Regions from separate parts of the Homo sapiens genome. Here all the other regions are linked to region 1. Evidence: promoter capture Hi-C in 16 types of primary human blood cells and fetal thymus (Javierre and others, 2016). All regions are on one chromosome and are shown on one strand. The core of a region is centred on a gene start or on the middle of the fragment in contact, and the rest is flanking DNA. Distances in the headings are between cores, read along the strand shown.

What was found. Contacts are between HindIII fragments. The CHiCAGO score rates a contact against its expected background, and 5 or more counts as called.
Region 2: a fragment that was not itself captured here is called in contact with the fragment with the promoter of MIR1-1HG in region 1 in 4 of 17 cell types (M1 macrophages, neutrophils, total B cells and 1 more); the score reaches 5.7 in M1 macrophages.
Region 3: a contact is called between a fragment that was not itself captured here and the fragment with the promoter of MIR1-1HG in region 1, in 3 of 17 cell types (M0 macrophages, M1 macrophages and monocytes). The highest score is 8.7, in M0 macrophages.
Region 4: a fragment that was not itself captured here is called in contact with the fragment with the promoter of MIR1-1HG in region 1 in 1 of 17 cell types (M1 macrophages); the score reaches 7.0 in M1 macrophages.
Region 5: a contact is called between a fragment that was not itself captured here and the fragment with the promoter of MIR1-1HG in region 1, in 1 of 17 cell types (naive B cells). The highest score is 5.5, in naive B cells.
Region 6: a contact is called between a fragment that was not itself captured here and the fragment with the promoter of MIR1-1HG in region 1, in 4 of 17 cell types (M0 macrophages, M1 macrophages, total B cells and 1 more). The highest score is 8.5, in M0 macrophages.

The regions. Positions count from the first base shown.
Region 1 is chr20:62,549,042-62,553,152 of GRCh38, reverse strand. It overlaps MIR1-1HG (MIR1-1 host gene), which reads right to left and starts at 2,700. Exons shown (of 4, transcript NR_171007.1): 1 at 2,115-2,700. It overlaps CRMA (cardiomyocyte maturation associated lncRNA), which reads left to right and starts at 1,592. Exons shown (of 7, transcript NR_033263.1): 1 at 1,592-1,727. RefSeq lists an enhancer at 1,738-2,613. The HindIII fragment of the contact is 7,236 bases long and covers 1-4,111 here.
Region 2 is chr20:62,719,702-62,724,050 of GRCh38, reverse strand. All of the region lies in intron 1 of NTSR1 (neurotensin receptor 1), which reads right to left. Among named protein-coding and RNA genes, the nearest start is that of NTSR1, 13 kb to the right of the region's middle. RefSeq lists an enhancer at 118-657 and a silencer at 2,485-2,677. The HindIII fragment of the contact is 3,085 bases long and covers 1,031-4,115 here.
Region 3 is chr20:62,781,358-62,785,993 of GRCh38, reverse strand. LOC105372716 (a long non-coding RNA gene) reads left to right here. Exons shown (of 4, transcript XR_936986.3): 4 at 2,165-2,776. Among named protein-coding and RNA genes, the nearest start is that of LINC00659, 6.8 kb to the right of the region's middle. The HindIII fragment of the contact is 2,684 bases long and covers 1-2,615 here.
Region 4 is chr20:62,416,278-62,420,265 of GRCh38, reverse strand. RBBP8NL (RBBP8 N-terminal like) reads left to right here. Exons shown (of 14, transcript NM_080833.3): 2 at 536-679; 3 at 1,801-1,843; 4 at 2,947-3,042; 5 at 3,394-3,506. The coding sequence starts at 619. Among named protein-coding and RNA genes, the nearest start is that of RBBP8NL, 9.3 kb to the left of the region's middle. The HindIII fragment of the contact is 375 bases long and covers 1,442-1,816 here.
Region 5 is chr20:62,742,136-62,746,305 of GRCh38, reverse strand. All of the region lies in intron 1 of NTSR1 (neurotensin receptor 1), which reads right to left. Among named protein-coding and RNA genes, the nearest start is that of NTSR1-AS1, 8.9 kb to the right of the region's middle. The HindIII fragment of the contact is 4,880 bases long and covers 1-4,170 here.
Region 6 is chr20:62,762,238-62,766,600 of GRCh38, reverse strand. It overlaps NTSR1 (neurotensin receptor 1), which reads right to left. Exons shown (of 4, transcript NM_002531.3): 4 at 3,830-4,363. Among named protein-coding and RNA genes, the nearest start is that of LINC00659, 12 kb to the left of the region's middle. The HindIII fragment of the contact is 2,121 bases long and covers 1,030-3,150 here.

The DNA.
Region 1 (4,111 bases), core at 1,451-3,950:
CAAATGCAGGGGGCCGCCTTCCTGTTAATGAATTTCCCGGTGCTCACCAGCTCCTAATGAGCCTGTTAAAGAGGGTTTAAGTAAACTTAGCGAGTGGCAAACTAAGCACTTTGGAATACTTAATTGTATCGATATGTTTTTCATTGCGTTTAAAAATGTCTCTGAGTGGGAAGCAGAGGCTGCCTCCTTCCCTGCCAACTTCTATGACCAGCCGTGAAGCCAGACTCTGAAAAATGTGGAGAAAGAGCCAGAAGGAGACCAATGGGACCTCAAGGTTAGGCCCTCACCAGCAGGAAGGGAAGCCGCCCCGAACCTGCTGGGAGCGGGGAGAGGAGGAGGAGGAGGAGGAGGAGGCCTGCAGGGTTTCGAGGCCTCGCAGTGGCCCAGGGCGAGCCTGGCACGTGCGGTGGTGAGAGGTGGAAAGAAGGCTTTGCAGGTGCCTGGGGGGGACGGGGGCCAGGGAGGCGCCAGTTGGGGGTGCAGGCCGGGCACAGACACAGGAGGCTTGCTAAGCGGTGGGGTCCAGCTGGGCCCTGGCCCCTGTCCTGCCACTGACCCTGGCGTGGGGTGGGACAGCAGCCCCGGGACATGAAAGGACCTCCCGTTGTCCTCATCAGGAAGAGAGGTCCAACATGACTCTGTTGCTCCTCCAGGCAGCCCGTCCATGCGAGGGGACAGCCCGGAGCGAGTTGGTTCTCTCTTACCACCCAGGGCAGGGCAATGTCTCCGCAGAGCCTGCAGTGTGCAGAGGCCACTGAGCATGCTGTGGCTGTGTGGCAGTGGGTCTGCAGCTGGGCATGGCTGGGTTGGAGTTTCACGTGGGGGTGGGTGGGGGCGGGGGGTGGGGGTTGTGCTTAAGGCTCTGGAGGCATCCCCTCTACAAAGGAAGGAGCAAATGGCAGACAGAAGCAGAAGCTGATGTCCCATTTCCACGTAGCTGCTGTGATTTATCATTTTCACGTAGCCAAGGATACAAAAAGGGCACCCGACACCGCAGCCTGAGCTTCAACTTCGGGGGCACCTGGGTTCCGCCGCTCATCTGTGCCCTCCCAAGACCTCCGCAATAACCGTCCCCGGAGTCCAGGGAAAAGGCCTCCTCAACGTCCCCAGCTCCCTGGCACATGAGCTCTCAGAGCCTGGGACACTCCCGCAGCCTGGCTCAAGCCCCCACGACCTGTGAGGCATTCATCTGGACGGGGTCTGGGGGTCAAGGGGAAAGCTGGGAGTCCCAAAGGGCAGGAGAGTCACCCCAGACCCAGCCAGAGTCCACAGGACTTCTGCCCACTCACAAATGAATTGTAGTCACTTTTCAAAAAGTTTCCCGTCTGCATAGAAAAAGAGCACCCAGCCGCCTCCAAGCAGACCCCACCGTGAGCCGAGCTGGCTCCTGTGCCCGGGGCCTCCTCCGGGGCTCTTCAGCGGTGAATACCGCCCGGCCCCCGGCATCAGCGCCGCGGGAGGCCACGCGGGAAGTCAAGCTCCCCAGCAGGGACCTGCACAGACGCCGACCACCAGGGCTGCTCTCCCCGAAGCCCCCCTAGTCTCCGCCCACATGTGCCCCCCGCCCCCCACCTCGCCGCCCTGCCCCTGTAAACGCCTCCTGACCCTGACGTGGCTGGGAGAGCTGCAGAAGTGCCGAGTCCCGGCCGGGGGCAGCCTCGCCGCCGCTCAGCTCGGGAATCCCTGCCCCCCACCAGCACCTCAGTGGGGGATACTGCAAGTTCAAGGTAAGTTTAGCCCCACGCCCGGCTGCCGGGGCTTTGTTGCGGAGCGGCAGGTGAATCGCGCCCCCAGCCCAGCCCCGAAGCCCCCATGCCATCCACTGCCCGCGTGGGGGGCCGCTGCTTTCTTGCAAAATGCCCGCAAGTCAAAGTTCCTGCCTCCCAGCTGGACGCGCCCTCCAGGCCCTGCCGGCTGCTGGCTCTGCAGTTTTCCAAATGTGGATGATGCCGCGAGCCAAGAGAAAACTCCACGGCACCCCCGCCGGAGCCGCACGGCGCCGGCACCCGCAGCACCCACCTCGCTGGCAGGCACACCCCCCACCGCGGTGCCCGGCAAGTTTGCAGGGGCCGTCCCGGCGGCCCAGCGGTGGTGATGGGCTGAGCAGGACTCACCGCGGAGCCCAGGGCACCCCTGGGGCCGGGCTGGTGACAGCGGCAGCGGCGGCGGGCGCAGGGTCGCGGCTCCCTAGGAGATGCTGCAGCGGCGGCAGCACCAGCCACCTCCTCCGGGAGCCAATCGCGAATGCAGGGGTGGGGGCCGAAGCTCGATGCGTCCGCACTTGGTGGGGGCAGAGAGAGAAAGAAGACACCAGGCACCCCCTCTCCACACCCCTGCCCTTCCCCCAGCCCTCCTGCAGCAGCGCAGACTTAGCAGGAGGGAGATCTTGAGAGAGAGAGAGAGAGAGAGAGAGAGAGAGAGAGAGAGAGAAGGCGCTGGTGCAGAGTTAGGGAGAGGCGGCCGAGCTGCACACCTTGAGCCCCGGCCTCCTCCGAAGGGAACCCCTGCACCCCAGCGGGGTCAGCACAAGGTAGAGAAGGTAGAGGTCAGGGTGGAACAAAAGGGAAGGTCCCGCGGGTGTGCACGCTCTCGCAGGCACACAGCCGGCTCGCGGAGACACAGGGGCGGGGGAGGGGAGGGGAGGGGAGGGGAGGGCCTGACCTGAGAGGCCAGAGCGGGCGTGGGGGCCCCCCTCGGGTCAGGAGCCGGCCTCACCTTTGCAGTTCTTATATACCCGGCCAAGCATCCCAAACACGCGGCCCTGGCCAAGTGGCCCCCTCGGGCTGCGCTCCCTGACCATATTTAGTCAAGCAGGGGAAAAAATAGCCTGTCAGCTGGGCCGCGGCTGGCCCGGCCACCGGGAACAGGGTGGGAGCACCCACGCCATTGACGGCGGGTCCCGGGCTCAGGCTGCTGTCCTGCCCCTCCCGGCCCCTCCCTGACAGGCCTCCCACCGGCTGTCCCTGCCCGAGATCCCCCCGCTATTTTTAGCCCAGCCAGTACAGAGGCGCCTCCTCAGTAGCCGGGCAGCAGCCTCCATGCCATGCCAGCCGGCTCCTAGGGTGCCCTGGGGAGACCCGGGCATCTCCCAGGCTGCAGGGCCGGGGGTGGGGGGGGCGGGCAGAATGGTACGGCCTCCTTCGCTGCTCTGAGCCTCCAGTGGGCTGAGCCCACCCAGGCCACCAGGAGTGGGTGGCCCCCTCCACAGTCCCATCGGCTCTGCCCTTTTGCCTAGAATTGGGGCCAGGATCAGGTGGTGACAGAGCCACCTGGGTTTCCGGAGACTCTCAAGCCAACCCCAAGTCATGACAAATGCCAGTCGCCTTGGACAGAGGCAAGGTCAACCTGCTTGCCGCCCCCAGCCAGGCCCTGCCACCAAGGGTGTGTGATGGGGAGACCCCAATCCCGGGTGCTGGACGGGCTCAGGAGCTCCCCCTTCCGGGATTTCACGCCCGAATTATGTAACAGACGAGGGCCTGGGACGGGGCCTGACGGGGATCTGTCCTTGCAGGGCCTGGACGCAGAGACCAGAGGCCTGAACTGGCAGACTGTCCTCACAGGCTGTGTGACGCTGGCTGGTCGTCCCATCTCTCTGGGGCCCCACAGGACTGGGGACCAGGTCGTGGAATGACAGTGGACCACAGTGGTCCGGGGACCCCGCTCGTTGGTGGCAGGCACAGGCCCGTGTGATGGGGACAATGAGCTTTGGTATTTGTGAGTCCTGTCCAGAGCATAGGTCCTCCTGTTCAGAAGCCACCTCATAAATGTCCCCAGTGCCTCCCGGACTTAGGAAGGCATCCCCTTGTGGTTCTGGCCAGTTAGGGACACAGGGCCGGGGAGTCTATGCCGCTCAGAACAGGCTCAGCTGCATCTAATCCCAGGGGAGCCCCTGAGGAGCCTGCACACCCCCCAGGCTGGCCCACAGGAGCTGAGGCAGGGCTCTCCTCCAGGTTCACCTCCTGGGCTCACGGCCCCTTCCCCACATCCCAAGGCCGGCTCTGCAGAGTCATGGGGAGAAGCCGGAGCCCCAGCCACACTCGCCACACACGCCGACACCCACTCTGGTGTCCTCCGGCCAGCGACAGCGAGGGACAGAGGGACGCCCCCTGCA
Region 2 (4,349 bases), core at 1,324-3,823, 170 kb before region 1:
CCACTCCCCACTGCCTCCTACAAGCTGGTTGAAGCCACTGGGCAGACACAGAGCTGCCAGACCTCTTGCCCATGGCCCCTCCCATCTCTGCCTCCTGCCCCAGAGGCTGCTGCCTCCGCCTGACCTGCTGCCACAGGAAGACCACCTGGAGACCACCCAGGGGGTCAGCGTGTTCACCTGAAGCCAGCTTCAAAGCAACCCCAGTGTTTCGCTGGCTCGGCCCTGACTCCCTCAGCCCATCACAGGTGCAGAGGAAATAAAGCCCCGTGCTTGGGGGCTCCCTGTACTAAGGACAGGCCAGAGAGAGGAGCTTCAGGCTGCTGTGTCTGAGGAGGTCCCTGGGCTGGAAAGACCTCTGTCCCCACTGGCAGCTTCTGTGTCTTAAGGGTGCAGGGCAGGGCAGTGGTGATGGGAAATGCTGGTGAGCCCTGGACCAGGGATCCTGGATCTGGTCCTCCACCATGGGGTCAGCCCAGATGGAATGGCTTATCCCTCAGCTCCAGGCAATAAATAGTGACCCCCGACAGCCGCTTCCTACTGTGCACATCCTGCTGGGCACGCAGCCTGAAGTCGACAGGTGGACAAATGAGCGTTCCTTGCCCTGGCTCCTGACCAGCACATTCCGGACGGCTCTATTCGCAGCTCCGGAGTGACACGGCCCAGACACACTTGCGGTCCCTCCCTGACTCGCAGGAGCCGGGGGCTTCGTGATTCTGCCAATCAACTGGGAAGTGACACCCCAGACAGCAGCATCCCACGGCTGTTGTGAGCAGTTACAATTGAGTGATGCCCAAGCAGGAATGATTCCCAAACAGCTCCCGTACTCTCTGAATGCTGAGAGCCTGGAAGTGTGAGTTTTTAAGGAGAGGAACCGTGTTTGAATTATAAGAAAACAAGGCTCTTGAAATAATTCTCTTAACCTTTAAATATGTCAAAGGAGAGTTACTGAAATTTACAGTAAGTTCACCTTTTCACAGACAACAGGCTAAAAATGTTTAAGTCCAAATAATGTTGCTCTTTTTCATAAGCTTCAGTGTAAGATTTACTCAAACACAGTGGCTGTCCTCAGACTCATGTTTCTTGGATAACTCTATTTCTTTGTTCTGTGTTCTTTTGTAACATTGTTTTAATAATTCCTTTGAGCCCAAGCCTTTTATCATAAGCTGCCTCAGATCTTTTTGAAAGTAGGCAGTGTTTAAAATCTACGGATGACTTTCGCCAGGGGTACTGGACTAGCTCTCCTGCCATAAACAACTATAAAATTGTACACGATGTATCAGGCAGTTGTTTTCAGACCCTGGACAAACCTCAGGACTGTGGTCCCTAAGGGCATGGATACTCACAAGGTGAGCCCATCATCACCATGCCTCTGTTTGGGGACAGTTTCCTGATGGAGACGTAAGAGCTGAGGTCCGGGCAGAACGTTACTATCTGAGCCAAGGAGGCAGAGATCAGAGATGCGGGCTGTGGCTGTGGCTACATCTGCAGAGCCAGGTGCTAGAGAGGGGGACTGCATGGTGACGGTCCTCAGAAGCCTACACCGGCTTTCCTGTGGGATCTGTGCTGGCCCAGCGTGTACAGAACAAGGCCACGAAAGGCTTATCAGAGGGTGGCTGGCATCCTGGCAGAGCTAGGGGGAAGAAGTCTCATTAACACATGAAGCAGCCAACAGAGATGCCAGGAAGCCCATGACACAGGAGGATGGAGAAGCCCTAGAGCAAGGCCTCCAAACCCACCCCAGCTAAGACAGAATCCACAGAGGAGGCTGAAGGTGCCCACTGAGTTCTTCCAAGTGAGAAGGGATATTGGAAAATGCCTTGGGCTTTCCGTAGTTGTTTACTCAACTAAGCATGAAACCAAGCCGACCCAAGTTCAAGATGACGAGTCTGCCACTGAACTGCCTGCTAAAATAAGAATCAACCCTCTCCAAAGGAACACAACACAATCCAGTCTCTTTAATGTGTCATCTACAAGGTCTAGTATAGGTTAAAAATTACTAGATATGCAAAGAAAGTAAAATGTGACCCATTGACAAGAAAAAAATGAGTCCATTGAAACAGACATCAAGGTGGAAGTGAGAAGCAGGAGGTGTCAGGTGTAAATCAGCATGATATGAATCTGATCAGACTCTGAGCACTCAGAGTCCACTCAGAGGCATACTGATATTCCAGGGCAACCATTCCAAGAGCAAATACAGAGAAGTGGATCTAAAGAAGTCAGCAGAGGACATAACATGGAATACTCGGGCTTCCTGGCTGGAGGCCTAAGGAAAGGATCCCTGGAAACTAGAGAGTGTGACAGGAAATCTCAGAGAGGTGAGAGCTGAACAAGGGGATCCCCCAGTTCTGTGTATGAGTCAACACAAGTCCTGGAGTTACCACATATGAGGAACACACCTAAACAATTATAGTTAAGGGCTTGAAAACCGCTGTGATATAAACGATCTCCAAGATCTAAGCCTGCCCCTGAATGGCACTTTCATGTGGAATGGCTGAACAGCAAAAGACCCAAAAACAGGCCTGCATTGGAACCACCACGGACAGACAGTGAGACAAAAGCGGCAGCTCTGACCAAGCGGGCTGCCTCTCCAGAGGATTCTAACATAACCCAAAGAACCACAACAAAATTCAAAATGTTCAGGAATTAATTCAAAATTACTTAACAGAAAAAGAACCATGGAAATGGGACTAACTCTCAAGGAAAAGAGAATCAATATATGCCACCCTCAAGATGACCCAGAGGATGGATTTACCAGACAAAGACTTTAAAGCAGGCATTACAACCATGCTCCTTGAGGTAAAGGTAACTCTCTTGAAATAAATGGAAAAATGAAAGTTCTTAAAAGACAAAAAGAAACTATATTAAAAGAACCAATAAAAATTCTAGAATTAAATACTATAACACTATCCAACAAATTGACCTTCATAGAATAATATACCCAGCAATGATAGCACAGCACATTCTGCTCAAGTGTGCATGTGACATTCACCAGAATAGACCATTATCCTAAACCATGAAACAAGCATTCACAAAATTAGGAATTTAAATCATGCACATTTGTTCTCTAAACATAATAGGGTTAAATTAGAAATGGATAAAAAAGTAATATCTGGAAAATCCCAAACATTTGGAAACTAAACAACACATTTGTAAATAACACAAAGGTTAAAGAGGGAATCTCAAGATATAAAAAAATTTTGATCTAAATTAGAATACAATGTTCAAAAATTTTGAGATGCCACTAAAGCATTAATTAGGAGGATGTTTATAGCATTTCATGTTTATGTTAGAAAAGAATAAAGATCTTAAATCAATAATCCAAGCTCCCACCTTAGGAAATCTAGGAAAAGAAGAGCAAATTAAACCCAAAGCAAGCAGAAAAAGGAAATGAAGAAAGAAATATAAATAAATAAAATTGAAAGCTAAAAGACAATAGAAAAAAAATCAATGAAATCAAAAGCTCATTCTTGAAAAAGAACAATAATGTTAATAAAATCCTAGCCATATTGCCCAAGGAGAAAAGAGAGAAGTCACAGATTACCAATATTAGAAATGAACAAGGAGACACTATTACTGACCCCACAGACATTAAAAGGATGATGACAGAATACCACAAATAAATCTATGCTCTAAAATTTGACAAAATAGATTATATGGACCAATTCCTCAAAAGATACAAATTACTAACACTTACTCAAGGAGAAATATATAACCTGAATATTCCTTTATCTTTTAAAATAATTTGTCTTGTGAGATGGAGTCTCGCTCTGTCACCTAGGCTGGTGTGCAGTGGCGTGATCTCGGTTCATTGCAACCTCCACCTCCCGAGTTAAAGCGATTCTCCTGCCTTAGCCTCCCGAGTTGCCAGGACTACAGGTGCCCACCACCACACCTGGCTAAGTTTTGTATTTTTAGTAGAGACAGGGTTTCATCCTGTTGGCCAGGCTGGTCTCAAACTCCTGACCTCAGGTGATCCACCCTCCTTGGCCTCCCACGGTGCTGGGATTACAGGCCTGAACCACTACACCTGGTTTCTTTGAAAAGAATTGAATTTATAAAAACCTTCCTACAAAACTCCAGGCCCGGATGGTTTTGCTGGACAATCTACCAAAGCTTTAAAGAGGAAATCATGCCAATTCTACACAACCTCTGACAGAAAACACAAAAGGAACAAGAACCTCCCAGCTCATGTTATGAGGCCAGAAAACCAGATGAAGATAACCCAGGAAAATAAACTTACAGACCAATATTTCTCATGAGCATAGACACAAAAATTCTCAGCAAAACACTAGCAAGTCAAAACCAGCTAATACACGACGAAATGAGGTCTATCCCAGGAATGTGAGGCT
Region 3 (4,636 bases), core at 24-2,523, 230 kb before region 1:
AGTGGGGTTGTGTGTGGGTCTCCACCCAGGCCCAGGGGTGCAGGGGCCCTCACAGGGCACAGGGGTCCTCGGGGGGCGTAGGGGTCCTCAGGGGGTGCAGAGGCCCTCGCAGCACTTGCTGTTCTTCCAGGTCTGGGCAAGAGGCCCCGCCGCGTTCCCTTAATTCTCAGGTCTTTGGAGTGAATGCCTAAGGCCTCCAAGCCCCGGGTCTCCTCTGTATCAGGCGCTCACGCTGTGGGAGCTGCTTTCTCTCTGCTCCACTTCTACAGAGAAAGAAAATCACAAGCATTTCCCACACTTCCCCCAAGCCTTGACGTATCACAGTTCACTCATGGAGTTGTCAACAGACACAGGCACACACAGACCAGACTGTGGGCTCGGGAGGCGGGAACAAACCCCTCCTTCAGGAGACCTGGCAGCAGGCCAGGGGGCGCCCCAGGGCCCACCCAGCGCAGGGGCAGGCAGCCGCTCCCTCCTGCCCCTCGCCTGCTCCAGCTGTGGGCACTGGGGGCTGCCCCTGGCCCACCCCGCCCTTCATCCCCTCACCTCTGCCTCACCCCATGCTCCATCCCTCCCATGTCTCACCCATCCCACCCTACCCTCACCCACCTCCACCCGCCCATCAATTCCCCCACCTCTGCCTCACCCCACCCTCCATCTCCCCACCCGGTCCCACCCAGCCCCATCCCACCTTCCATCCCCCACTCCACCCCATGCTACCCCACCCTCCATCCCCCACCTCTGTCCCACCCACCCCATTCCCCTCACCCTTGTGCCCCGACTCTCCAGCCCCATCCCTCCTCCACCCAGGTTATCCTTCCTGCGGTACTTGGTGTGTTTCAGTCTTTAGTAAATTTAAAATAAAATGTGGAATTTTCCCTTCGTAACTGTTGAATCTGGATGCTGTGCACACAGGTGCATGCGATACTAGTCTCTCGACTTTTCTGTCTGACGTTTTTCATAATACAAAGTTGAAGAATATAAACAGCTGTCTCTATGCTGATGGAAACGATTATTACAAAAACTGAGCCAGTCATCGCGCACACAGCAAAAACACTCTGGGATAAAAGAGTCCCTGCTGAAAAGTATCCCCCACCAAGGCTGCCTCCGTTAGGAGAGCTGAATCCCTGCCCCGGGAGGCCTGGGTTTCTGCCATTCCCTAATCAAAAACCAAACAGGTGGAATCCGGCCTCCCCACACTTGCCTCCCTCCCTCGCAGCGTGGCCCGTCCTAGAGGCCAGGCTGTGTTGGCCCCTGGAGATCTGGCCCGGTTAGCACAGTTCTGCTGGGTGCAGGTGCGGTGCCCAGAGCCGTGCTCACGCGGCTGAGAGAGAGGCAGGGGAGAGCCTGAGGCAAGGGAGTCCTTGCTGGGTTGGGAGCTTGAGGAAGGCGGCCCCACCCGAGTGGCCACTGCCAGATACGCTGCCCTCTGCAAGGGGCTTCCTTGGCTTTCGGGCAGGTGATGCCCTAGGATCAGCTGCTGCTGATGCCAGCGGGTGTTGGTGGGGAGCACCCAGCTCGTCACCCCTGGGTGGGAGGCTTATACACCCCTCTTGAGGGCCCTGGAGGGGCTGAGCCCCAGCAGCCCCAAGTGTCACCTCTCTTCTTCCTGCACCTACTTGTGGAGTGTGGCCTGGGGAACACTGGGCCCACCGCTTCTCTCTGAACAGCCACCTCTGTGGGATCGGGGGCTCCAATAGTGGCCAGGTTAGGCACTTAGCAGACTGTGGGCAGGGGTCCAGGAAACCCCACAGCGGGAGCGAGGAATCTGACTTTGCAGCGAGGAGGACGCAGCGGCCAGGATGTTGGGCCAGGCCAGTTCCTTTTGATTTTATTTATTTTTGAGATGCAGTCTCACTCTGTCGCCCAGGCTGGAGTGCAGGGGCGCGATGATCTCGGCTCACTGCAACCTCCACCTCCTGGGTTCAAGTGATTCTCCTGCCTCAGCCTCCCAAGTAGCTGGGATTACAGACACCTGCCACCACACCGAGCTAATTGTTGTATTTTTAATAGAGACAGGGTTTCACCATACTGGCCAGGCTGGTCTTGAACTCCTAAACTCAAGTGATCTGCCCACCTCGGTCTCCCAAAGTGCTGGGATTACAAATGTGAGCCACCGCGCCCAGCGTCTTTTGTGATTTTTGACACAACTTTCTTATTTCAGGAATTGGGATCCTGACACATCCACCAAAGAGCCTTTGAGTACTTCGAAATCACTTGGAACAGGTTCCTGCAAAGCAAACCCTTCTGGGCTTGAGGAGGAAATGGACCCGGAACATTCAGCCCATCTGAGCACAAACTTTCTGTTGACCTGAGAGGCTGAGGCCTTCCTGTTCCCCACTCAGACCCAGGAGGCAGCCTGCCCAGGGGGAGCCGGGGCATGGCCTACGAGCTCCTGGAGTCAGGCAGCTCCTGAGGGGCCGGATGGTCTTGGGCTGGCCAAGCCAGCCTCTGTCGTCCTGTGGATGGTGGGGCCTTGTGTACGCATAGCCTCTGCACAGGGGCACACTGTGGGTGTTTGGACGGACAGTGTCTCAAAAACCCAATTCAGGGCTTGACAGCAGATTTGTCCTCCACTCCATGTGCATATGAGCAAGGAGAGTTAATGCAAAGCTTTCTTCATAGCAGAAGGTTGAAAACAATGTACCTTTCTATCAGCAGAGCAGGCAAGGGGGATACTGTGTGTTTCCCACTGCTGCTGGGACAAATTATAACAAATGTAGCAGCGTAAACCAACGTCCATTTTTCATCTCATGCTCTGGAGGTCAGAGGTTCTCGCGGGTTCTTCTGGTTTTTCTGTTCAAGGTCTCATGAGGCTGAAATTGAGGTTTCAGCCAGCAGGGTTCTTGCTGGGAGGCTCCAGGAAGAACTGGCTTCCTGCTCTGACAAGCTGTTGTCAGAATCCAGGCCCTACAGTTGCAGGACCTGGGTCCCACATCCTTGCTGGCTGTTGGCCAAAGGCTGCTCCCAGCTTCTGGAGGCTGCTCCGTTCTCTGGCTCACGGCTCCATCCTCCATCTTCAGAGCAAAACCAGGTCATGTCCTTACCTCGACTCTCTCTGCCTCCGCCTCCTGCCTTATGGCTCGGCCTCCAGGGAGAAGCTGGCCAATGCGCTCTCTTTTAAGGGTTCATACGCTGGGCTCACTGGGGAATCCAGGATTGTCCCCCACCTTCACCTTAACCACAGCTGCCAAGTCTCCTTCCCCCGCCACACGTCATGGTAGCACATGAAGGGATTGGGATGCTGGCATTCTGCTTCCCACAGACACTAAGCTGCCTCTCTCGGCAGGAGGCGGTGCTGAGTCTCATGGGGAAAGAGCTCTGTGCTGCAGTGAGATGAAGAGACCTCGGCGCCGGTGCTGGGCAGGGAGAAGGTGTTACCGGTGGAGGGTCTGGACTGCAAGTTGTCCAGGTTCTTGGCATTTAAACAAAGAATTGGACAAAATGCACAGCAAAGCAAGGAAAGAATGAAGCAACGAAAGCAGGGATTTATTGAAAATAAAGTACGCCCCACAGTGTGGGAGCGGGAGTGTGCAAGGGCCCTGGATACAGAATCTTCTCGGGTCCAAATACCCCCTAGAGGTTTCCCATTGGCACTTGGTGCTCACCTTATGTAAATGAAGTGGTGACTGCAACCAGTCTGATTGGCTGCAGAGAGCAACCAATCAGAGGCTGAAGTGAAGTTACAAAGTTACACTCCTGGCCAGGCACTGTGACTTATGCCTGTAATCCCGGCACTTCGGGAGGCCCAGGCAGGCGGATCACCTGAGGTCAGGAGTTCAAGACCAGCATGGCCAACACGGTGAAACCCTGCTTTAGTCTCTACTAAAAATACAAAAATTAGCTGGGTGTGGTGGCGTGCACCTGTAATCCCAGCTACTCAGGAGGCTGAGGAATGAGAATTGCTTGAACCCAGGAGGCAGAGGTTGCAGTGAGCTGAGACTGTCCCACTGCACTTCAGCAAGGGCAACAGAGCGAGACTCTATCTCAAAAAGCAAAACAAAATGAAAACAAACAAAAAGCCAAAAAACAAACAAACAAACAAAAAACAAAGTTACACTCCTATGCAAACATCTAATTGGTTGCAAAAAGCAACCAATCAGAGATACTTTTAATTTTCCATCTGCCGGGTTTGCAAAGGGAGTAGCCTCTGGTCCTTTTGTTACTTAGGCCTGGAAAGTTAGAGTTTTCCTTTCAATTTAGAATTTAGTTCTAATAAGTCAGTGTGAAACAGCCTTAGGTTCCCTGACCAGACCCAATTCTCCTGATTCAAAGGGACAAATTGTCCGTAGGTGGGAGAGGAGGGACCAGGTTGTCCCATCCCTCTAGGAGCATGTAAACGCCTCCCAGGGCTGCCTTGAGGAAGAGGCCTGGGGCTGGGAGGACGTGGACTTTGCTTTTGCCTCCTGTGTGTGGCTCCACGTGCACGTGTTACCTACTGGAAATTATACTTTTTTTGAGACGGAATCTCACTCTGTCACCCAAGCTGGAGTGCAGTGGCGTGATCTTGGCTCACTGCAACCTCCGCCTCCAAGGTTTAAGCAATTCTCTGCCTCAGCCTCCCGAGTAGCTGGGATTACAGACTCCCGCCATCACTCCCGGCTATTTTTTTGTGTTTTGGTAGAGAGGGTTTCAC
Region 4 (3,988 bases), core at 380-2,879, 130 kb after region 1:
GGAAGGAGGTGCTGTGACAGTGGTGTTGGGGCCGGGGTGTGGACAGTGGCATGGTAGGGTCTGTGGGGCTCTTACTGGTGAGGTCTGACTCCCAGCTTCACAGCTGGGCAGGTGCCACCAGCACCATCCAGCTCTTGCCAGGCTTCCCTGTCCCTCCATTGAGGTGCCAGGGGAAGGGCTTATGTGGGGACAGGCCAGGCACTGATGGGCTGGATACCTGGGGAGAACGGGGTGGCTCAGAGGTGCCGGCACTCACCCCAGATGCTCCCTGGCCCCTCCAGCCCCTCCCGCACGGCAGCCAGCACCCTGCCCTCTGGCCCCCGGCCACATACGTGTGGGAGGAAGCCACACAATGTACTATCTCTGTGCCTGCCCGTGGGGTTCGGGAGCCTCCAGGCCACCTCCCATGAGTAGCCCCTACAGCATGGCATGGGGTCTGCTCCATACAGACACAAGGAGCCCCAATCCTCTCCTGGACTCCACAGCCCACAAGCCCTTCCTGAGCGGATCCCTGTCCCCTCTTCCTCCTCTTCAGGATGGACACAGAGGGGCAGTAGAGGCTGCAGGCGTCTCCACAACCCCAGCGCAGAGGGGCCCGGGCCAGGGCCACAGGGAGCCATGGAGAGCTTCATGGAGTCGCTGAACAGGCTGAAGGAGATCCACGAGAAGGAAGTCCTGGGTGAGGGGCCAGGGACAGATGCCAGGCTAGGGAGGGGTCTCCACAGCCCTCACCTAAGGGTCGGAGCAGGCCACTGTGCACCCATGATCACCTCCAATTCCCACCAAGTCAGGGAATGGACCCCGTCTTTTTGGCCCAGGCAGGGGAGTCCTGACCCAAGGCCCAGAGCTACAACGTGGCAGACACCCTGCCTGGGCCCGAGTGCTGACCTCAAGCGGGGATGTCCTCGAGCCACTCCCAGAGTGTGACCCCGAGGGGGAGGGGCACTTTCAAGGGTTGCCACCAACACCTCATGGCCACCTGCCACCCGCAGGCCCCATGCTGCCCATGCTTTGTTCTCCCGTGGGCCGGCCTCCAGCGTGGCAGAAAGAAGTACCCACCCTGGCCGGCCTGCTGAGCTCACCAGGGCAGAGACAGCCACTTCCAGAAACAGGAGCTTATGGCTCTCTGGACCCATCCAGAACATGTCAAGGCACTGAGCTGCAACTCTTCTCTTCCTTCTAGGACACGCCCCAGGCCCCACCCCTGTCCACTTCCCCCACGAGGGACAGGGCCGCAGCCCCCACACCACCCCCAGTCCAGTCCCAGGGCCAGCACCTCCCCGTGGTCTTTCCACTGAGCACCCACACCCACCTGGAGGTCCAAGGACCCGGCTGCCTCCTAGGCAACCCAGAGAGGTGGGGCTGCTGGGGCTAGCCAGGCCCAGGTTGGATCCCCAAGATACGGCAAGGAGAGGGTCTGGTGGGGTCCGCCCCAGAAGCTTATCTTATTTCAACACTAGCTATGACACACACACACACACAAAATGGCCCCTCGGTCCCTCTACCTTTCACAGGTGGCTGGTCACTTGTGGCACCAGGGTCCCTGCTCACCCCCAGACACCCCCAGACAGATGCCGGAGGCAGAGACCCCAGGGGAAGCAACAGATGCTAGGCCGAGACCACCGAGCCTCAGGCAGCCCCGTGCCTGGGCACAGACAGGGGCTCACCTGGCAGGGCTCCCCCAGGGGGTGCAGGGGACAGGAGTGCCACATTGCAGCTCTGCCCAGACCCCGTGGTGGGGACACTGAAGGTGAAGCAGCAGCTGGGCCTGACCCCCCGCCCCTCTGCTTGCTCCCCCAGGCCTGCAGAACAAGCTTCTGGAACTGAACTCAGAGAGGTGCCGGTGAGTCAGGCCAAGCAGGGCCCCTCCTCACAGGGACCACACTGGCCACTTCATCCCCCTGAAGCCCCAGTGTGCCAGCACTACCACCGTCCTATGGTGCAGAAGGGAAACTGAGGCTCAGTGTGGGGGCGGGGGGAGTCACTTGTCCAAGGTCACACGGTGAGCAGGCAGCGAAGCCAGCACTTGAACCCAGTTGCGTCGGCCTCCCAGGGGCGGGGCAAGCCCCCTACTCGGGGCTTCTCCCACCCCAGGATCATGATCAGAATATCAACAATACGTTCACGGTGAGCTGGGGTCATGTCTGGTCAGACACTGGCGGGCGGGCAGGCTCCCTGCGTTCTGGCTTATAGACCCGGCTATGGTCCTGCCTGTGCTGTGGCACTAAAGTGGTGCGTGGACAGGACAGACGTCACAGAGGAGCGTGCAGATGACAGGGGGGGCGGTGTGTGGACAGGACAGACGTCACAGAGGAGCGTGCAGATGACTGGGGGGGCGTTGCGTGGACAGGACAGACGTCACAGAGGAGCGTGCAGATGACTGGGGGGGCGTTGCGTGGACAGGACAGACGTGACAGAGGAGCGTGCAGATGACTGGGGGGGCGTTGCGTGGACAGGACAGACGTCACAGAGGAGCGTGCAGATGACCGGGGGGGTGGTGTGTGGACAGGACAGACGTCACAGAGGAGCGTGCAGATGACTGGGGGGGCGTTGCGTGGACAGGACAGACATCACAGAGGAGCGTGCAGATGACTGGGGGGGGTGCGTGGACGGGACAGACGTCACAGAGGAGCGTGCAGATGACTGGGGGGGGTGGTGCGTGGACGGAACAGACGTCACAGAGGAGCGTGCAGATGACTGGGGGGGCGTTGCGTGGACGGGACAGACGTCACAGAGGAGCGTGCAGATGACTGGGGGGGCTGCGTGGACGGGACAGACGTCACAGAGGAGCGTGCAGATGACTGGGAGGGGGGCACCGGGTTAGGCGTTGCCCCCAGACCAAGGCTGCAGGTGCCGAATCGCGCTGCCCCCCCAGGCTGGATGGTGGGGACAGCGTGTGGCTTCCTGGATGGAACAGGACCCCACTTTAGCTGTTTCCCACCACAGGGACGCCCAGAGGATCGAGGAGCTCTTCTCCAAGAACCACCAGCTCCGGGAACAGCAGAAGACACTGAAGGAGAACCTGCGGGTGCTGGAGAACAGGTGGGCCTGGGAGGACACCTCGCAGCATGGCCAGGACCGGTGGGCTCAGGAGAGGAGGAGGTGACAGGGCTCCTCGGAGAATGAGTTTGGGAAACTCCAGGATAAACTGAACCAGGAAGGTTTCCCCACTGCAGGACATCTCAGAGCCTTAAGGAAATTGCATTTTCAAGATTTCTCCCCAAACTCAGTGGAACATGGGACACCTAGCCCACGGGGTGGGAAGAGGCCTGGGGCTCTACGGAATAGTTTGCAAAGGGCAGGGGCACTTCCCAGCAGTGGGGCAGTGAGTGTCCCAGGCCCTCTGTGGCTTCCGTGCCATCCCTCACACCCCCTGCGTCCCCATCCCTGCAGGCTGCGGGCCGGCCTGTGCGACCGCTGCATGGTCACCCAGGAGCTGGCCAGGAAGCGGCAGCAGGAGTTCGAGAGCTCCCACCTGCAGAACCTGCAGCGCATCTTCATCCTCAGTGAGCCCCACCCACCAGACAACCGGGGTCCTCTCCCACGGGGCCAGGCGACCCCAGGCCTGTTCAGCCCATGTAGGGGCATGGGGAAAGGAGGCAGGACGATCGGCCCCACACCACTGGGGGAACCTCACAACCCAATCTACAGACAAACACACAAAGCCCCCAGCCGGCGCTGGTGTGGCCCTCCCTCAACACAGCCTCCCTCCCCTGGGCTGGGGGCATCCCGGCCCCCACTGGGCGCGGCCTCCTTCCTGAGATGCGGAAGGTCCTGCAGTGCTGAGGCCCCAGTGGCCCTCCTGATGACCAAGGGCAAGCCCCCTTCCCTCGAGGCCGGCACTGCTCATTCAACAGCATCCAATCAGCCATGCACGCAGCCAGCATCCACGGCGCCCCTGCTGCCTGCCAGGCCCTGGGCTACGTGCTGGGGGCACTGCTGAGGGGCTTCCCTGGTGCTGTGACGACCCCACCCCTGCCCCTGTCCC
Region 5 (4,170 bases), core at 800-3,299, 190 kb before region 1:
ACTTCTCATCTCTGACCTGATGGCACCCACAAGCCTACAGGGACCCTAAGCTCTCCTGGCAGACGGTCCAGCAAACTCACAGACCTGAGAACTCAGGGGGTGAGAACTGAACAGGAAGCAGACGGCCAGGCTGGGGTAGTGTGGGGGCCTGGTGGTGACCCGCCGGGCGGCAGCCTTGACCTTCCCCCTGGCTGACCCCTTCTCTGACCTCTGCTAGTGTGGCCCCCGTCCCTGCCCAGGCTGAGCGTCTACCTCTCTAGGCGTCTCAGCCCTGGCCACATAGGGTGGCCTTGAGGGACTTTGTCCAATGGACTCAAGCAGCTTGAAGGCCATGCAGGGCCGGCCAGAGGATGCCTCAGCGCCACTGATGCCACAGCACCCTGGCGCCTTTCGATTTGTCTCTAAAGAGAGCAGGGAGTCACCTGGCCCAGCCCCATGAATATTCTGGGGGACGCGTGGTGGCTGGGACTCCCAGACCGCCTGGCTTTGCAATTCCAAGCAGCAGGGGAGGGTCATGGCCAACAGCAGGGAAGCCCTGGGGACGGCGAGGCTGTTCAGCAGCTGTAGAGAAGGCCATCCAGTCCCAGCGAGGTCCACGCCAAGCTGGATTTGGAGGCGAGGCAGAATATGTGTCTCTGTCTGTCTTTGTATCTTTCTCCTGTGATGTCTCTGTGTTTTTCTCTGTGTTTTTCTGTGTCTCTGTCTCCTTGTATGTTTTCCTTCCTGTGTCTGTCTCTGTTGTGTCTCTCTCTGTATATCTGTGTGTTTTCCTCTGTGTCTCTGTCTTTCACTGTTTTCCTGTGTCTGTCTCTGTCTGTGTGTCTCTGTTGTTCCTGTGTCTCTATCTCTGTATCTCTGTGTCTCTGTTCTCCTGTGTCTCTCTCTGTCTGTTTTCCTGAGTCTGTGTCTCTATCTCTATATCTCTGTGTCTCTGTCTCTATCTCTGTCTCTGTTTTCTTGTGTCTCTGTATCTCTGTCTCTGTGTCTCCCTGTGTCTGTTTTCCTCTATGTGTCTGTTTCTCTGTCTCTGTGTCTCTCTCCATGTCTCTCTGTGTCTCTGCTTTCCTCTCTGTGTCTCTCTCTCTGTCTTTGTGTTGCTGTCTGTCTGGGTCTCCCTCTGAGTCTGGTGTGTGTACCAACATCCTCAGGTGGCAGGAACTGGCTGGGCCACCCTCCCTGGAGCCGGCTGGGTAGCTGGGCTCTGGGCCATGGGCCTCAGTGGCTGGGTCTGAGGTTTTAGGGGTGGATGTTCCAGAGCAGAAGGTCATGGTGGGAGACAGGGGTGTCTGCTGTGACAGCCGTGGTGGTCTGGAGGTGGGGCTGCCTCCATGGGAATCTCATTCGTGCTTCTGGCAGTATCCTCTGCTGTGTGCACCCCTCAGCTGCTACCCCTTGCCTCCTAGCCCTGTCTGGGTCTGGGAATGGCGTTTGAGTGGTTGGTAGGGCCTCAAGCCTCTCAGAAGCAGCCGAATGCCTGGGGTTTGGTGCCAGAAGTGGGGGCCTGGCTTGTTCCCTGGCCAGCTGTGAGCTCGGCAGGTCCTCCTGGGCCTCAGGCTCATTTCTCTCTTTTTTTTTTGTGAGACTGAGCTTTGCTCTTGTTGCCCAGGCTGGAGTGCAGTGGCGCGATTTCTGCTTATCACAACCTCCGTCTCCCAGGTTCAAGTGATTCTCCTGCCTCAGCCTTCCTGAGTAGCTGGGATTACAGGCATGTGCCACCATGCCTGGCTAATTTTGTATTTTTTTTTTTTTTTGAGACGGAGTCTTGTTCTGTCACCCAGGCTGGAGTGCAGTGGTGTGATCTCAGCTCATTGCAAGCTCCACCTCCCGGGTTCACGCCATTCTCCTGCCTCAGTCTCCCCAGTAGCTGGGACTACAGGTGCACGCCGCCATGCCTGGCTAATTTTTTTGTATTTTTAGTAGAGACAGGGTTTCACCATGTTAGCCAGGATGGTCTCGATCTCCTGACCTCATGACCCGCCCACCTCGGCCTCCCAAAGTGCTGGGATTACAAACACGAGCCACTGCGTCCAGCCCCTCAGCCTCATTTCTAAAAGAGCGAGCCTAGAGGTGCTGCCTCAGTTCCTGGAGCACTGACTGTGCTCCCTTGGGTGTGGGAAAGGAAGCAAATTGGGGGGCACAGGACTGCGGCTTGGGAGGCTGGGATGGGACACGCTGGGGCGACGGCTGGTGGGGCTGGACCTATGGGAGGGACAGCCTGGCCTCTGCCCCCTCGCATGTGTAATTTTGATGGGGAGGACGGAGGTGGAGTGAAAGGTTAGATAATGAAACAGCAGGTGTGTTAGGGGGATCTGGACCGGGGCGCAGCCTCTGGGTGGTTGGTCTGAGCTTGGCCGTGGAGACCAGGTGGGGAGCGGGAGGGGTGCACACGGTATGCCTGCCCACAGGTGAGGGCACAGCCAGACAGCAGGAGGGTGCCCCCGACACAGGCTCCAGACAGCCGGCCTCAGCCCCTCGACCTCAGGCAGGGCGTTCTCACCTCGCTCTTCGAGAGCAATTGCTTGTTTTGTATTCTGCCTTTCTCTCTAATTCATCCCATTGTGTTTAGATCAAGAGACAGCCCCAGACTGGCACACTGCTTCCCGGCTCCGCAGCCAGCCTGTGCTGAGTGGGAAGGTGCAAAACCCTTTTGCTTTGCAGAACCCAGAGGCTTTGTAAGATGGCTGCAGAGGCTGCGGGGCGGGTGGGAGGGGAGGCTCCTGTCCACACCCTCCCAAGGGGGTGACCGCTGGGGTGGCCTTGCTGGGCTGGCAGGGGATCGCCCTCTCCCTGAGCAGATGACCAGCCCCAGCAGGGCCCAGGCTCACGGACGGTCTTTTCTAACCTCCCAGACAGACTCCAGGTGGAGAGGCCCCCACTAGACCCAGCAAACACTGACTTGGGAGCAACCCTCAGGGTTCTCATGACCCCGAACTGCCTTCCCCACCACAGCTGAGGCCAGGAACGATGGCAGAGTTAATTCAGAAACCCTGTGTGCCAGGGCCGTCAGCACAGGCTTGTTCGAAACCCCAATGATTGGTGAACAACTCAAAGGCTCACCCTTTGGGGCTGGTCGCCATGGCATGACGCACCCACACCACGGGGCACTCAGCTGACTGGACCGGGGGCAGGGAGCAATGAGGCAATGGGTGGGCCTGAGATGGCCGGGATACGTGTCCAGCAGGGGCGGCTCCGTGCTCCCCTCCCAGCCTGACTCTCTGGATTGGAGCCTACCGAGCTGATCTGGGGAGAGGGCAGGGTAGCTGGGAGGGTCTCAGGTGTGTCCCCCAAAAGCTAGACTCCCACAGTGAACTACCTACACAAACAAAGCTAAACTCAGAGAACGTTCCACTTGCCTGTGCTGTGGGTATGTCCCGTGACAGGTGCCCTGGGATGAACAGGAACCCCACGGCCACACCAGAGCCACTGTGACCACCTCACAGCCCTGGAACTGGGGAAACACTGCGGGGAGAGGGATGGGAACCCTGGTGGGTCTCTGCTCCCCATGCCAGAGGTGGGGTGCCAGGGCCAAGAGAGCAAAGGGGTCTTTAAGGTGACACAGCCCAGCGCTTTCCAGGAGTGAGGTCATCCAGGAGGCTCTGACCAGTGGCTGTCCTCAGAGGAGACACCATGGAGGGACCCAGGGAAAAGCAGCGGCCACCCACAGGACACCTGAGACCTAGGGCCCTGTGTAAACAGGTGTCTGGGGAGCAGAGGACGGAAGGCATAAAGAACTGCCAGTGTGACCTTGTTCTAGAAGGTTCTGGTAGTGGCCAGCTTGGGATACTGTGCTGTCCCTCAGTCCCCAGTCTCTTTCCTCGGTCCTCCCTCCCAGGCATCTAAGCAGTACCAGGCCCGGCTCGAGATGCTGCTGGGATCTGGAATGCAAAGCTGTGGGACTTGCTGCCCAGTGGGGACACGCCTGACTCATGGTGGATGGGGGCCTGGAAAGCCGTACATTGCCGCGTGGTCAGCAGTGACCACAGACCTGGCCTGAGGAGGAGCCCACACACCACCTCCTGGAACGCCAGCATTTCTGAGTCCCTGAGGGCAGGACTGGAGAGAGAACAGGCGTGTGACCTGGAGGGGCCATGTCAGCCACCTCGGTGTCTGTGGGACCACTGTGGGGAGGGGATGAAATGGACGGCGCAGCTTCTGGCTAGTACTTGGCCC
Region 6 (4,363 bases), core at 841-3,340, 210 kb before region 1:
GTGGCACCCCATGATTTATTGGGGTGATACTGAAACTCACCACCAAATGGTACTTATTCCTCCCGGCTTTAGGCACAGACTTTCTTACTTTAAGGAGAACTATGTTGTCTGAATCCAATAATTTTACTTTAAAAATGTAGCCAGAGTTAAAAAATAGCTATTGGCTAACAGCCCGTGTGAAAATTTGCCGTGGGGAATGAGGGCGAGGACCTGAATGGGTGGGTGGGGGAGGGTGCCCGTCATCCGAGACCACCCATGCCTTGTGTTTGCTCCTTCACCTCTGCCCTCCCAACCTGCGCCCCAGCCCTGCCCCTGAGCCTGACCAGCGTCCTGGGGTCCCCTGCAGAGCCCACCTTGCTGCGGTCACCCTTTTGGTCAACTTGCCTGGGGTGAGAGCCCGCCACATCCACCTCTGCCTGGCTGCCCAACCAGCGTTCCTCCCTGGCATGCTTTCCCCATGCCCCCCAGGGGGAAGAGAGGAGCCAAATGGTTCCCAGAGGCTGAAGCAGACCCCAGGAGGCTCTGGGTGTAGCCTGGACAGTGTCTACACAGCTCGGCGTCTGAGGCTGAGGTGGGAGAGCCTGGGCATGCAGGGTCTCCTGCCGGGTGAGCATCTCTGATTTGGGGGCAAAGCAACCCGTACCCTGTCCTTCATCCCTCTCTGAGCCCCGCAGCCTGGAGCTTCCTCCTGCCACTGCCATCAGTGGTCCCTACCAGTCCCTGGGGCAGCAGCTTGGCTCTGCCCTCTCACTGCTCCTGGGTCTTGGTGTGCTGGAGGCTGGGTGCTTTTCTCACCTGGCAGCTCCTGGGGAGGCGTGCCCTCCCCAGGAGGGGGTCACGGTCCTTGGGAGGTGGGGTCTTCTGAAGGTCCCACAATGGCGAGGGCAGAACCAACACCAGCTCCGTGCAGCTCTCCCCCTCCCTGGCGTCCCCAGCTGTGAAACAGGTGGAGCTCGCCTTCGGCCTGTGGGCCTGCAGGGTGGGTCACCGGGAGCACATGAGGGCTGATAGGACCATGGTCTTCAAGCTTAGGGAGGCTGTGGGTCCTTGGCAGATTACCAGAGCCTTGGCTTCCTTGGCCAGTCAAATGGGAACAATGACCTAAGGATGCTGAGCCCCAGGGCGGCCGGAGGCTCCCTACACACAGCTGGGTTCAGCCAGGGCTCCTAGGTGATGCCTGGCAGAATCTGCGCTTAAAGTCCTGTCTCCCAATCCTCTTCCTCCTCCTCCAGAGATGCAGTCAGAGAGACAGCCCCCAGCTCCAGGGAGGAAGCAGGGAGAGGGAGGAGCAGGGAGAAGAGAGGAGAGGGAAGAGAGGCTCGGAGGGAGGCTCAGAGGGGAGGGAGCCTCAGACCAGGGAGAGGCTTGAAGGGGAGAGAGGCTCTAGAGTGGAGAGGAGAGCAGGGACCTGGTTGCAGGCAGTGCTATACCCTGGGCCACCTCCAGAGTGACAGGAGCGGGTGGCACCAGGCTCCACTGTTGGTGGAGGGGGCTCAGACTAGGCCGGGGCAGAGAAGGAGCCGGGCAGCCAGGCATGAAGCTCATGATTGACACCAATTCCTTAACCTTAAACATCACGGAGTGTCCAACTCTGGGGACGAATCGGGGTGTGGACAGGTTCAGGCAGGGAGCCCGTGGAGGGCAGCAGTCGAGGGCCCGGGTACCGCTCTGGGCCAGGAGGGACACTGGCCTGGCCGCCAAGGCCAGATGCCAAGGAAGGCAGCCTCCGCCTCCCTCCCAGCTCCCCTGACGCGGCCAACCTTGGTCCTGCGGGCCGGGCCCTGAGTGCTAACTTCCACCTTATCCCACGTCCCAGCTCACAGTGGCAGAGCTGGAGTCCAGCCCAGGACCCTGTGCGTCACCACCTGTGCGCTCATGGCTGTGCTGTGCTGCCGGGGGAAGAGCTGGCATCCCCTCTTCACCCAGTGCTCGCCACGCAGCCTCTGGGTGCACAACACAGGCCCCCCAAGGGCTCCACATGGTGGGTGCCCTCTCCCTGTGCCCACCTTGTGGCCACGCACAGCCGAGGGGAAGCGGGACCCCGAGGCAGCAGGCTCTCCTCGTCCCCATCCGGCCTCCTCCTGGCTCTGGCTTCCCTCTGTCGGGGGTTTAAGGCTTCCTAGAGAGAGCAGCTGTTGGGTGAGAGGGTCTTCCCGGAGACCCTGCAGCCTCTTCTGAATCAGGGGCCCAGGAGTCCTCACTCAAGCCATCCCCACCTCTGAGCTGGGCAGGTGCGGCTCGGAGGGGAAGGTGGGGGACCATGCCCTTAGGGTGGGTGGGGTTGTCCTGTGTTTCTGCTGTCCTTTGGGTTAAGGTGTGGGGATCTTTGTTACCAGGAGATGCTGTGGCCACTAACGCTTTAGCACAGATAAGGACAGGCTGAGCCTGGTGGGGATCTGGGGCAGCGCCGCTTGGGAGGGCAGGCGAAGGTGAGTGCTGGGTGCTGGGAGGGAGGGGCCTGGCAGCGTGTGCCAAGATCCCTTTAGATGATCAGGGTTATAGTTTATCTCCCCACCCTCACCCAGACCCCTCCCAGCCCTGCTGCCACCTGGCTGCCCCCAAAGGAAGGAGTCCTGAGCCCCCAGGCACAGGAAAACAACACTTAGAGAATCTCTAAGTGCTGCAGGGAGGTGGAGGCAGGGCCAGAGCTGCTGAGGACGGCCAAGAGGACCCCCTCAGGAAGGGGTGCTCCCTGCCATCAGGACCCAGGAACCATGGCAGGCTCCTGACCACGAGGGCCCCAAGGCTCCTCCCCTCTCCCCCTAGGCCCCTACTCAGCCCCTCCATGGGCGCTCAAATCCCTCAAGCTCTCAACCCGCCTTCTCCCTCCCCTATTGCTCCCCTAGCACCTGCCCTTCTCCTCTCCAGCCACTCTGAGCCCCTCATGTCCCTGGGGAGACCCCTCACTCCTGCACTCTCCCTTGCTCAGGCTCTGCCTCCCACTGGCCCACCTGCCTCCTCCTCCAGGCAGCCTTCCTGGACTGTTCAAGCCCAAGCAAATGCTTCTTTTGCTGAGCTCCACAGGGTGAGCCCAGCACTCCTAATCCTGAGGCCCAGGAGGCTTATGAGAAAGACCCCAGGGCACCACCCTGCAGACTCTGCTGTCACCGGCCTCTTGTGGCTCAGGCTCAGGCAAGCCGGAGAAAAGCTTTTGGTGCCCTAAAAAGGAGCACAGCAGAGAGCCAGAGCCGCCCAACCAGGGATGGAGAATGACCCGGGCCTTGGCGGGGGAGAATTGGAAACGGTGGGTCTGGGAGGTGCCTGGGAACCCTCATTTTCAGAGCAGAAGCCCTGGGGGTGAGGGTTCAGCTGCATCTTCTGTCTCCTCAGTAGCCTGCACGGGGCTGGGCCCAGGCCAGAGGCTCAGTACTGCACCCGGGCCTATCTGTCCACTGCTAAGGCCTCGATGGGGCCATGGCCCCCTCCCCCACAACCACAGGACCCCTGGGCTGGCTAGAGGGGGCCATGGAGATCTGAGCTGAGCGGTCATGGGACCCCGGGCTCCCCGCTTCACTGAGCGTCCTCTGTGTTCAGCTCACAGATCAGGAGACTGAAGCTCAGGAGACGGTGAGGACTTTTGCCCACACAGGCCCCTCGGTGGTCACTAGGCCCTGCAGGGGGCCCACTGCTCCTTGAAGCACTAGGGAGGGTGGGTGGGCTGTGAGCAGAGGGATCCCGGCGCCCCCCACCCGCCAGCTTCTGGGACCAGAGCCCTGTAGACTTTGGTAAGAGGCCCAGTGCAGGCTGGCTGCTGCGTCGGTGCGTGTCTGAATGAAGGAGTGAATGAATGAGTGGGTGGGTGGGCACATGCAGGCCCTCAACACTCAAGTCCACATCGAGGCCCTTCGGCCACCTTTATTGAGAGATACACGGGGTTTGTTTTCACCACCTGCAGATGGTGGGAGTGGGGGTGGGCGTTTGAGCTGTGAGGGCTGTGCCGTCACCAGGGGCCGGCTCAGGGGCTCCGGACTCCATGACCGACGCACTCATGGCACGCAGGGCCAGCTTCCGGGGCCACATCATGACCTGGCCGCAAGCTAGTGATACGAGATCAGGTGTCGTGGGTGTGTCTGTGGTGCGTGGACACGTGTCCCTACCTACGGTAAGTGCACAGATAGGAGCATCAAGACATCAACGGGAAAAGCCGACTTCAGTCACAGCCACAGACCCCGCCCCAGAGACCCCACGTCTACCGAGGGTCTAGGGCAGTGGGGCATCCACTCTGCCCTCTCTCAGAGCACCATCCTGAGAGACACCATTCTGTCTGTTCCGGGGTGGATCCTCCAGGACAGTCTCATCCAGCTGAGAGGGCGGAACGACCACATCTGTTCCTTAGATGGGGAAACCGAGGCTCAGAAATTAT